Linked DNA regions of Homo sapiens: region 1 is linked to region 2. Evidence: promoter capture Hi-C in 16 types of primary human blood cells and fetal thymus (Javierre and others, 2016). All regions are on one chromosome and are shown on one strand. Each heading gives the region's core, a stretch centred on a gene start or on the middle of the fragment in contact. The rest is flanking DNA. Distances are from core to core; before and after follow the strand shown.

Region 1 (4,428 bases), core at 908-3,407, 200 kb before region 2:
CCCAGAACACAAAAGTGGAAGCTGCTGCTTAAGACTTAAGCCAGCCAGGCGCGGTGGCTCACGCCTGTAATCCCAGCACTTTGGGAGGCCGAGGCGGGTGGATCATTTCAGGTCAGGAGTTCAAGACCGGCCTGGCCAACATGGTGAAACCCTATCTCTACTAAAAATACAAAAATTAGCCAGGCGCAGTGGCACGACCCTGTAATCCCAGCTACTCAGGAGGCTGAGGCAGGAGAATCACTTGAGCCCAGGAAGGGGAGCAGAGGCTGCAGTGAGCCAAGATTGAGCCACTGCACTCCAGCCTGGGCAACAGAACAAGACCCTGTCTCAAAAAAAAAAAAAACTCAATTCACCATGGGGCCTAGCGTGGTGGCTCACGCCTATAATCCCAGCACTTTGAGAGGCCAAAGCAGGAGGATCACTTGAGGCCAGGAGTTCAAGACAAGCCGGTCAACATAGCGAGACCCCCCCGTCTATACAAAAAAATCCAAAATTAGCCAGGTATGGTGGTGCGCATCTGCAGTCCCAGACATTCAGGAGATTGAGGCAGGAGGATCTCTTGGGCCCGAGAGGTCAAGGCTGCAGTGAGCCATGACTGTGTCACTGCACTCCAGCCTGGGTGATGGAGCAAGACCTTGTCTCTAAAAAGAAAAAAAAAAAATGTTTGCCATGGACACGTATGACCTTATGATTGGTTGGGTCCAGAATGTTGCCCGGTCCTGCTTCCACACCTTGGTTGTGCTGTTCCCCTGCCTGTAACAGTCTTCCTTTCCATCCCCAGCTGTCGAAATGCCCAGGGAAACGTTCCCTGAATGCCCAAGTCCGTTACTCTCCCCTCCTCCAGGCTCCAGCTGGACTTCAGGCCTCTGGGCCTCACTCCATCCACCCTACTGGAGTTAGTGTTGTGTAGTCTCCCTCTCCTGGGAACCCCTCTAGGGTCTGCGCAATCTTGGTCATCTCTGTCCACACACACATACAGTGGAATCATGCAGGTGCTGAGTAGGTGCTCAGTGACTTGAGGGCCCAAACCAGGAAAATACACATTTGCCCAACCCACCTTCCCCAACCCACCCCACCCCACCCCCACGCCCCGCCACAGGCATCATGGGTTGCGCTGCCTAGAATGGCCACAAGGTGGCGCGGGAGCCCCGCCTCCGATCTCTGCAACCTCTGAACTGGGAAACAGCTTCAGACTGGGGTTCCTGAGGGCCAGAGACCCCCGGGAGAGGGGGCCTCAAGCCCAGCTTTAAAGAGAAAGCTTACAGGCCAGGCGCGGTGGCTCACGCCTGTAATCCCAGCATTTTGGGAGGCCCAGGCGGGCAGATCACCTGAGGTCAGGAGTTCGAGACCAGCCTGACCAACATGGTGAAACCCCCGTCTCTACTAAAAATACAAAATACAAAAATATTAAAAATACAAAAATTAGCCCGGTGTGGTGGTGCATGCCTATAATCCCAGCTACTTGGGAGGCTGAGGCAGGAGAATCGCTTGAACCCGGGAGGCAGAGGTTGCGGTGAGCCGAGATCGCACCATTGCACTCCAGCCTGGGCAAAAAGAGTGAAACTCGGTCTCAAAAAAAAAAAAAAAAAGAAAGCTTACTGCCTACTCCCCTCCTCAAATTCAAAATTTACTTCCTCTTCAAGTAAATGGACTTTAATTATAGGCGTGCCAGCACTGATAGCTGCAACAATCTCTGAAATCTTGTTTGAGTGAAAGATGCCAGATGCCAAGAACTTCCTGTGTGATCCCATCTGTTTAGAGCTCTAGAACAGGCAGAACTCACCCATGAGGAAAATATCAGCACGGTGGTTGCCAGTTGGGGGAGAGCACAACTGAGGAGGGGACAAGGGTGCTCGCTGGGGTGATGGTGTGTGTTTCGTGTGAGTTTCCTAAGGCCGCCATGATAAGATACCACAAACCCAAAACAACAGAAATTTATTCTCCCCTGAAACCAGGGTCCTGCTCCCTCTGGAGGCTCTGGGGAAGAATCCCTCCTTGCCTCTTCCATGGTGCTTGCCCGCCATCCACCATGTTCCTTGGCTCTAGCTGCCTCACCCCAATCTCTGCCTTAATCTTCCAACGGCCTTCTTCCAGTGCCTTCTTCCCTCTGTGTGTTCACCTCCAAATCTCCCTCTCCTTTCTCTTATATAAACACCAGTCATTGGATTTAGAGCCCCCACAATCCAGAATGATCTCATCTTAAGTTGGGTTCATCTGCAAGCCCCTATTTCCAAATAAGGTCACATTCACAGGTCCCAGGGGTTAGGACTTGAACATATCTTCTTGGGGGACACAATTCAACCCACTGCATGTTTAACATCTTGGAGGGAGTTTGGGCAGTGCAGGTGGATGCATTTGTCAAAAGTAATCAAAAGTGGCTGGGCGCAGTGGCTCACCCCTGTAATCCCAGCACTTTGGGAGGCTGGGGCGGGTGAATCACTTGAGGTCAGGAGCTCAAGACCAGCCTGGCCAACATGGTGAAACCCCATCTCTACTAAAAATACAAAAATTAGCCTGGTGCAGTGGCAGGCGCCTGTAATCCCAACTGCTCAGGAGGCTGAGGCAGAAGAATCACTTGAACCCTGGAGGCAGAGGTTGCAGTGAGCAGAGATCGCAACACTAGACTCAGCCTTGGTGACAGAGCAAAACTCCATCTCAAAAAAATAATAATAATAATCAAAAGTACACCTAAAGGTGCAGTTCACCAAATGTAAGCTTTACAGACAGAGAAACAAATATTTGACTCTAGTTAATGACGTGCACACTGACATCTTGACATGCACACTGACATCTTGAGGGGTATCTGCAGCTTACCCAATTAAATGTTAAAAATAAAACAAGCCAGCCATGGTGACTGCCACCTGTAATCCCAGCACTTTGGGAGGCCAAGGCGGGTGGATCACTTGAGGTCAGGAGTTCAAGACCAGCCTGGCCAACATGGTGAAACTGCGTCTCTACTAAAAATTAGCTGAATGTGGTGGCGCACGCCTGTAATCCCAGTTACTTGTGAGGCTGAGGTAGGAGAATTGCTTGAACCTGGGAGAGGGATGTTGCAGTGAACCGAGATCGTGCCACTGCACTCCAGCCTGGGTGACAGAGTGAAACTCCATCTCAAAAAAATAACTGAAATAAATAAATAAATATAAAAATAAAACAGATTAATGAATAAACAGAGGTAGAGCCCCACCAATGCCACTTTTGAGAATCTATCCTGAGGAGCTCATCATGAAAATAACTCAAGCCTGCTCCTCACCACACATTCATTTAGGCTTTTCTTTAGATAAGATCTCTGTAGCCCAGGCTCAAGTACGTCGGCACCATCACAGCTCACTGCAGCCTCAACACCCCCAGACTCAGGTGCCCTTCCCTCCTCTGCCTCCCAAGTAGCTGGGACCACAGGCACGCACCACCATGCCAGGCTAATTTTTTTTTTTTTTTTTTTGGAGACAGGGTCTGCCACTCTGTCACCCAGGCTAGAGTGCAGTGGCACAATCACGGCTCACTGCAATCTCAGCCTCCCCAGGCTCAAGCAATCCTCACATTTCAGCCTCCCAAGTAGCTGGGACTACAGGCACACACCACCACACCTGGCTAATTTTTTTGCATTTTGTAGAGACAGGATTTTGCCATGTTTCCCAGGCTGGTCTCAAACTCATGGGCTCAAGCGATCTGCCTACCTCGGCTTCCCAAAATGCTGAGAAGCCACTGTGCTCGGCCTAGTCATTTAAACATTTTAATGATGAAAACTATGGAAACCAACTCAGTGCTCAGCTTTGCCACCCCCACTGGAGCACCTGGGGACTCAGCCTGAGGCTGTGGGAGGCATCAGGTGCGGGAAGCCTCTGAAATGAAGGGAAAGGTTGAACGTGGTTGCGTTTGCTTTATTACAGAAAGAATTATTCCAGCTTTCATCCAGTTCTCAGGGCCAGGCCGGTAACCCCCACAGAGGTGAAGGCCCCTGGTCAGCTGGGTGCTGGGTGCCCACCGGGTGCTGACATGCATACTCAGACCCCTCAAGAGGAAAGGGTGGCCTCCTTCACCAGGAAGCCGGCGCTGGTCCCGGCCCTGTCGCCGGGAACGTAAGCAACTGGGCCTCTTTTTCCTGGGCATTTATGCTGTGCCAGGCACTGCCCGAGGGGGTTGTATTTCTTCATATATTTATTCCCTTCTCTTCTGGTACCTGCCATCCACCTCTTCTCACCCCCACTCAAAGGCAGCCATTCTGTCACTTTGTGTCTTTTTGCTGGAATGTGTCCCTGCAAAACACATGTGGCTACTTTGTGGCATGAACACTTGTGTGAAGGGTTTTGTAGCTGTGGCTCATCCACGGTCCTTTCTATGAGCAGTCCCCAGTCTCAGCCGCCCAGTCCCTGGGGTAGACACCCAAGTGACCCCCAACCTGCCCCACCACAGATAAGGTGAGCTGCC
Region 2 (4,503 bases), core at 979-3,478:
CTACCTTTTCTCCATGTCCAGAAAGTTTTTTACACATTTAGTAAATTTTCAAAAGACGTGATTGTGTTTTCTGCCCCAAAGATGCCGTTTCCTGGTCTGTGTGCTAGGATTCAGTGGGGGTGGGGAAGCCGACCTGAGAACCGTTCGGGTATAATAAATTACTATAAAGTGATTAGCCACCTTTACAGCCACTCTCTAAAACATATGCTATCATAGTTTTCCCCTAAGGCTCAGAGAGGTTAAGTTGCTTGCCCAAAGTCACACAGCAAGGAAGCAGAGCAAATGCCAAGGAACCATTTTTGTGAGAGTTTAGCAGGTACCGGCACTTTGCCAGGTGCTTCCCATATGCATTCCTGCATTTAGCCTGTATAGAAACCCCAAAAGCTGTTCTCATGCCCATCTGAAAGATAGAGAAAATGAGGCTCACAGAAGAGAAACATCAGCCTAAGTTTTGAGAAAGTTCTCAAAGAAGGATTCAGAGCCAGGCGGGGGGTCTGACAACATCCTGTCTGGCTAGGGAGGGGGCGGACCCGGGAGAGGGTGTGGCCGGGTGGGCCCCTTCACACCTGGCCCCCACAGCAAGGTGTTGGTTGCACCTTTCCCATATCCAGCTCCGACCCATTTGGCTGAGAAACAGGCTGCAGGGGATTGGGAAGGTGTCTGCTTTGCCCATCTGCTTAGCTGATGAAGAAAGTTTCTGCCAAACGTTTCCAGAGAGCCAGGCCCTGGAACTTGAGCTAGAAGTTAGAAGACTCGGGGCCTCAGTGTCCACAGCTTTGGGAATGAGAACAGCAAGCCCAGATTCACAAAAGCTGCCAGAGAGAGCAACGGTGGGGGCGCCTGGAGGGGCACGTACCAGTGTGGGTCCGGACATGGCCTTGTAGCAGCCAGGGCCTAGAGAAGGCCTTCCCGCAGGTTCCGCAGACGCAGGGCAGCGTGTGGCTTCGGATGTGCATCTTGAGGGCACCCAGGCTGAGGTATTCCTTGTTGCAGTATTTGCAGTTGAAGGCCTTTCGAGCCTGGAGATCCTTGGCCTCAGAGAGCTGGGCCAGCTGCTTGGGCACTTGGCCCAAGCCTGGGAAGGCAGCATAGGCCTCGGCCTCCAAGGAAGAGACTGAAGTAGAGGAGAAGGACGAAGGAGCCGGTGAGGGTGGGCTGGGGGGCTGGGAGCCTTTCCCACTGTCCTCATCTGACAGGGAGGTCAGCTCTGCCACCCTGGGACTCTCCTGGAGCCGAAGGGAGGCCCAGGCAATTGGCTGGGCTTGGGGCGCCAGGACAGAGTCCCAGATGAGCATTGGCAGCGAGGCGGTGGGGTTGAGGATCTCCGGAGGTGGGATGGCTGCCAGCAGGTGGGCCTGGTCGTAGGGCTGCTGGAAGGTAAACTCTGAGGGAGAAAAAGCAGAGTCAGGCGTTAATTAAATCATTCACTCAATCAACAAACATGAGCCCACCGCTGGCCAGGGGCTGGGTGGGGCCGATTCTCAATACATAATTAGATCAAAAAAATTATCCACAGGACAGACCAGGTTCCTGCCCTCCTCGCCCAGGTCACCCAATCTGAGTCTCTCACACGTAGGACCCCCAGTTGAAGGAGGTCATTTCCTGATCTCCCTCTCCTAAGTCCCCAGTCTCCAGCCTGAGGCCAGAACCCCATCATCCCAGCCCCGGAGCCACCACCCTGCCCCAATCCCCCTCCTCACACACATCTCGTCTCCCCACCCCTCCCCTCAACCCTCTGGACTCCGGACTCTCCCCAGCAGCGTCCAGAGGGCCCTCCTGACACAGGCCTCCTCTCCTTCCCCTCTTGCGGAGCTCCTCCGCCTCTCGCCGGCTACAAAGGCCCCCCAAGCTGAAGACCCCTGCCCTCTACACGGCACTCCCCCAACCACCCAGACAGATCCCCGGAACTGGGGACCCACTTGCCCGGTCTCCCGAGCCCGCAATGGTCCACAAAACATCCTGTGACTCGATCCTGGCTCAGGCAGGCCGCCTCCCTCAGGTGCCCCCCACGCAGCCTTCGCCTGTCTCCCCCAAACCTCCTGGAGCCCAGAACCCCTCCAACGCACCTGGATTAGAGTCCTGCAGCTCGCTGTAGTTAGGCTTCCGATTGGGGTCGGAGGGCTTCCTGACGAGGAAAGAGCGCGGCATAGTGGTCGAGGCACTGGGGTCGCCGATTCGCGCAGCAGTAGCGCAGAAGAACCACTCGCTAGGCCGTGCCGCGGCGCAATGAATGCAGCAGCGCCGCCAACTCCCTTAAGTACTCCGGGGGGGTGGTGGGGGGTGGGAGGGGCGGGGCCTTATCTGCCACGCCCCTTTGTCACCTCCGCGCCAATCGGAGGCTCGTCTCCGCCGAAGGCCACTCCCCGAGCAGGTGCGCCGGCTGCTGGCCGGGCTCGCGCCGCGTGGCGGTGAGAGCCCGGGCGGGGACTCCTCCGAGGCGGGGTTCGCTGGCGCAGCGCGGGTCGTCCCCGGTGCTGGGGCTGTCCGGGGCGGGACGTCGAGCGAAGCGAGGCCTCTGCGAGGTGGGACCCCGGCAGGACGCCGCGCGCCCACCGGCTCAGCGCCCGGTGGTCTGAGCGCTTCTGACGCCCCCTGGCGCTGCGCGCCGGCCGGGACACCTGACCTTCCGACGCCCGCCCCCGCCTCGGGCTTGGGAGGGGGCGGAAATTTCCTCCGCCCGGCTGGCGCCTGGAGAGCGTGGCATTGACGAGGGAAACGCACATCACTGGGGAGGAAGCGAGGAAAGGGACACCGCACGTGGCTCTCGGCGGCTTGAAATGCCACGGCCTTTTTGCAAAGCAGCCTGGCCCAGCTAGCCAAGAGCACCCGTTCCTTCCCTTATCCAGTGTTTACGGAGCGCCCAGCACGTGTGGGGCACTGTACCTGGGGCCAGGGCACAGCCCCGGACAGAACACTCAGAGCCTCTCCCGAAGGGTAGCTTCTGGTCCAGTGAGGGAGACAGACGAAGTAAACAGATAATTACAATGCAAAGGGAAGTGTGCTTTGGTGGGGGAGAGACGGGACGCGGCGACCGTTAAGAGGCGGGTCACCTGACAGGGGGTCGGGGTGACTTCCCAGAGGAAGTGAAGAATTATCAAGGGAAAAGGCCCGAGGGAAGAAGTGGCAACTGCTTCAGAGTAACTCCTAGAGAGCAGCTTCCAGGGATGGGGTGGGATGGGCATGCCCGGAGGGGTCAGATGTGCTGGGCCCCAGGGCCTCGTAGGAGTTTGGACTTTGCCTCAAGGGCACTGGGGAGCCACCGAAGGATTTTCAGCTGAGGAGGGACCTGGTTAGAGTTTCGTTGAAAAAGATCCCTGTAGGCTGGCGGGAGAAAGAAGGCATGGGCCGGGCGTGTCTCCTCACCCCGTGAAGATCCTCGATCCTGTGTCTAAAGGCTGTAACACGGCTCCATAGGGGCCCTGACTGAATGCATGTGGGGTGGGCCCAAGTGAGGGGCAGCTGCACCCCCACCCCAGCTTCCCTGGGAGGCGTACCAGGCCCGGGGGTGGCTCTGAAATAAACCTCACAGGTCTCACCGTTCTTGTTTCCACCTGTGAAGGAAGACTATAAAAACCTATAAGCACCCCACACCACCACCACCACCAACCTGAAGGGCAGAACTACTGTCTGTTTAGTCACTTGGTGCCGGGTGTGACAGCCGTGAACAAAATCGTCCTCCCCTGGTTCTAGCTGGAGAGCGGGCAGTAGGGTGGGGGACAGAGGCAGTAAGCAGTCATTAAGCGGAATACTCCCCGTCCCGTGTCAATTTAGCTCCAATCAGGATCCTTTGCTTGAAGCCAAAGTGAGGCCAGATCACCCCCTCCTCTGCTCAAACCCTCCCATGCGCCTGTCTCAGAGTAAAAGCCAAAGTCCTCTCCTCAGCCAACTCGGCCCCGCTGCTCTGACCCCAGCTGACATTGGCTTGAGCCTCTCTCCCTCCCCCATGCACAAGGATCCCACCCCCAGCCTTCCTTCTGTTCCTCCAACATCCCAGACCTTTCCCACCTTGGCACCTGCTGCTCTTCCTCCTCTCCCCTACGTCTCTTGCTCCTAGATCTTCACGCTGGCTTCCTTTCATTCTTTGTTTCAGCAGCAACTTCACTAACTGCTCAGCCTCGTTTAGTGAAGAGAGAAATGGCAAATTCAAGCCACAGTGAGCTGCCATTTCACGCCCATCAGAAGGACAACAAGGAAAAATTTGGTCACTATCAAGAGTTGATGAGGAGGTGAGAGCTGGCGAGAGGGTCGGTGGGCATAGTCACTTTGGAAAAGTTTGGCATCAGCTAGCAACAGGTGACTCCTCTCCCTGTCTGTCCTCAAGCCAACTGCATCCCAGGGGCTGCAGCTGACAAGTCTGTCCTCAAACCAACTGCATCCCAGGGGTTCTCAGCTCTGGCAGCACATTAGATCCCCACAGGGAAGGATTAAAACACCTAAGCCTCGGCCCACCCCACCCCCACCCACATCTTGATTTAATTAGTCTGGGTGGGGCCTCTGGCATCA

The links. Contacts are between HindIII fragments. The CHiCAGO score rates a contact against its expected background, and 5 or more counts as called.
Region 1: a contact is called between a fragment that was not itself captured here and the fragment with the promoter of SNAI1 in region 2, in 17 of 17 cell types (endothelial precursors, naive B cells, activated CD4 T cells and 14 more). The highest score is 21.4, in endothelial precursors.

Annotation. Positions count from the first base shown.
Region 1 is chr20:50,176,109-50,180,536 of GRCh38, reverse strand. It overlaps LINC01273 (long intergenic non-protein coding RNA 1273), which reads right to left. Exons shown (of 3, transcript NR_109943.1): 3 at 3,866-4,256. Among named protein-coding and RNA genes, the nearest start is that of LINC01273, 5.8 kb to the right of the region's middle. RefSeq lists an enhancer at 868-1,367. The HindIII fragment of the contact is 1,121 bases long and covers 1,597-2,717 here.
Region 2 is chr20:49,980,705-49,985,207 of GRCh38, reverse strand. It overlaps SNAI1 (snail family transcriptional repressor 1), which reads right to left and starts at 2,228. Exons shown (of 3, transcript NM_005985.4): 1 at 2,067-2,228; 2 at 857-1,384. The coding sequence starts at 2,148. RefSeq lists a silencer at 2,214-2,733 and an enhancer at 2,886-3,823. The HindIII fragment of the contact is 8,892 bases long and covers 1-4,503 here.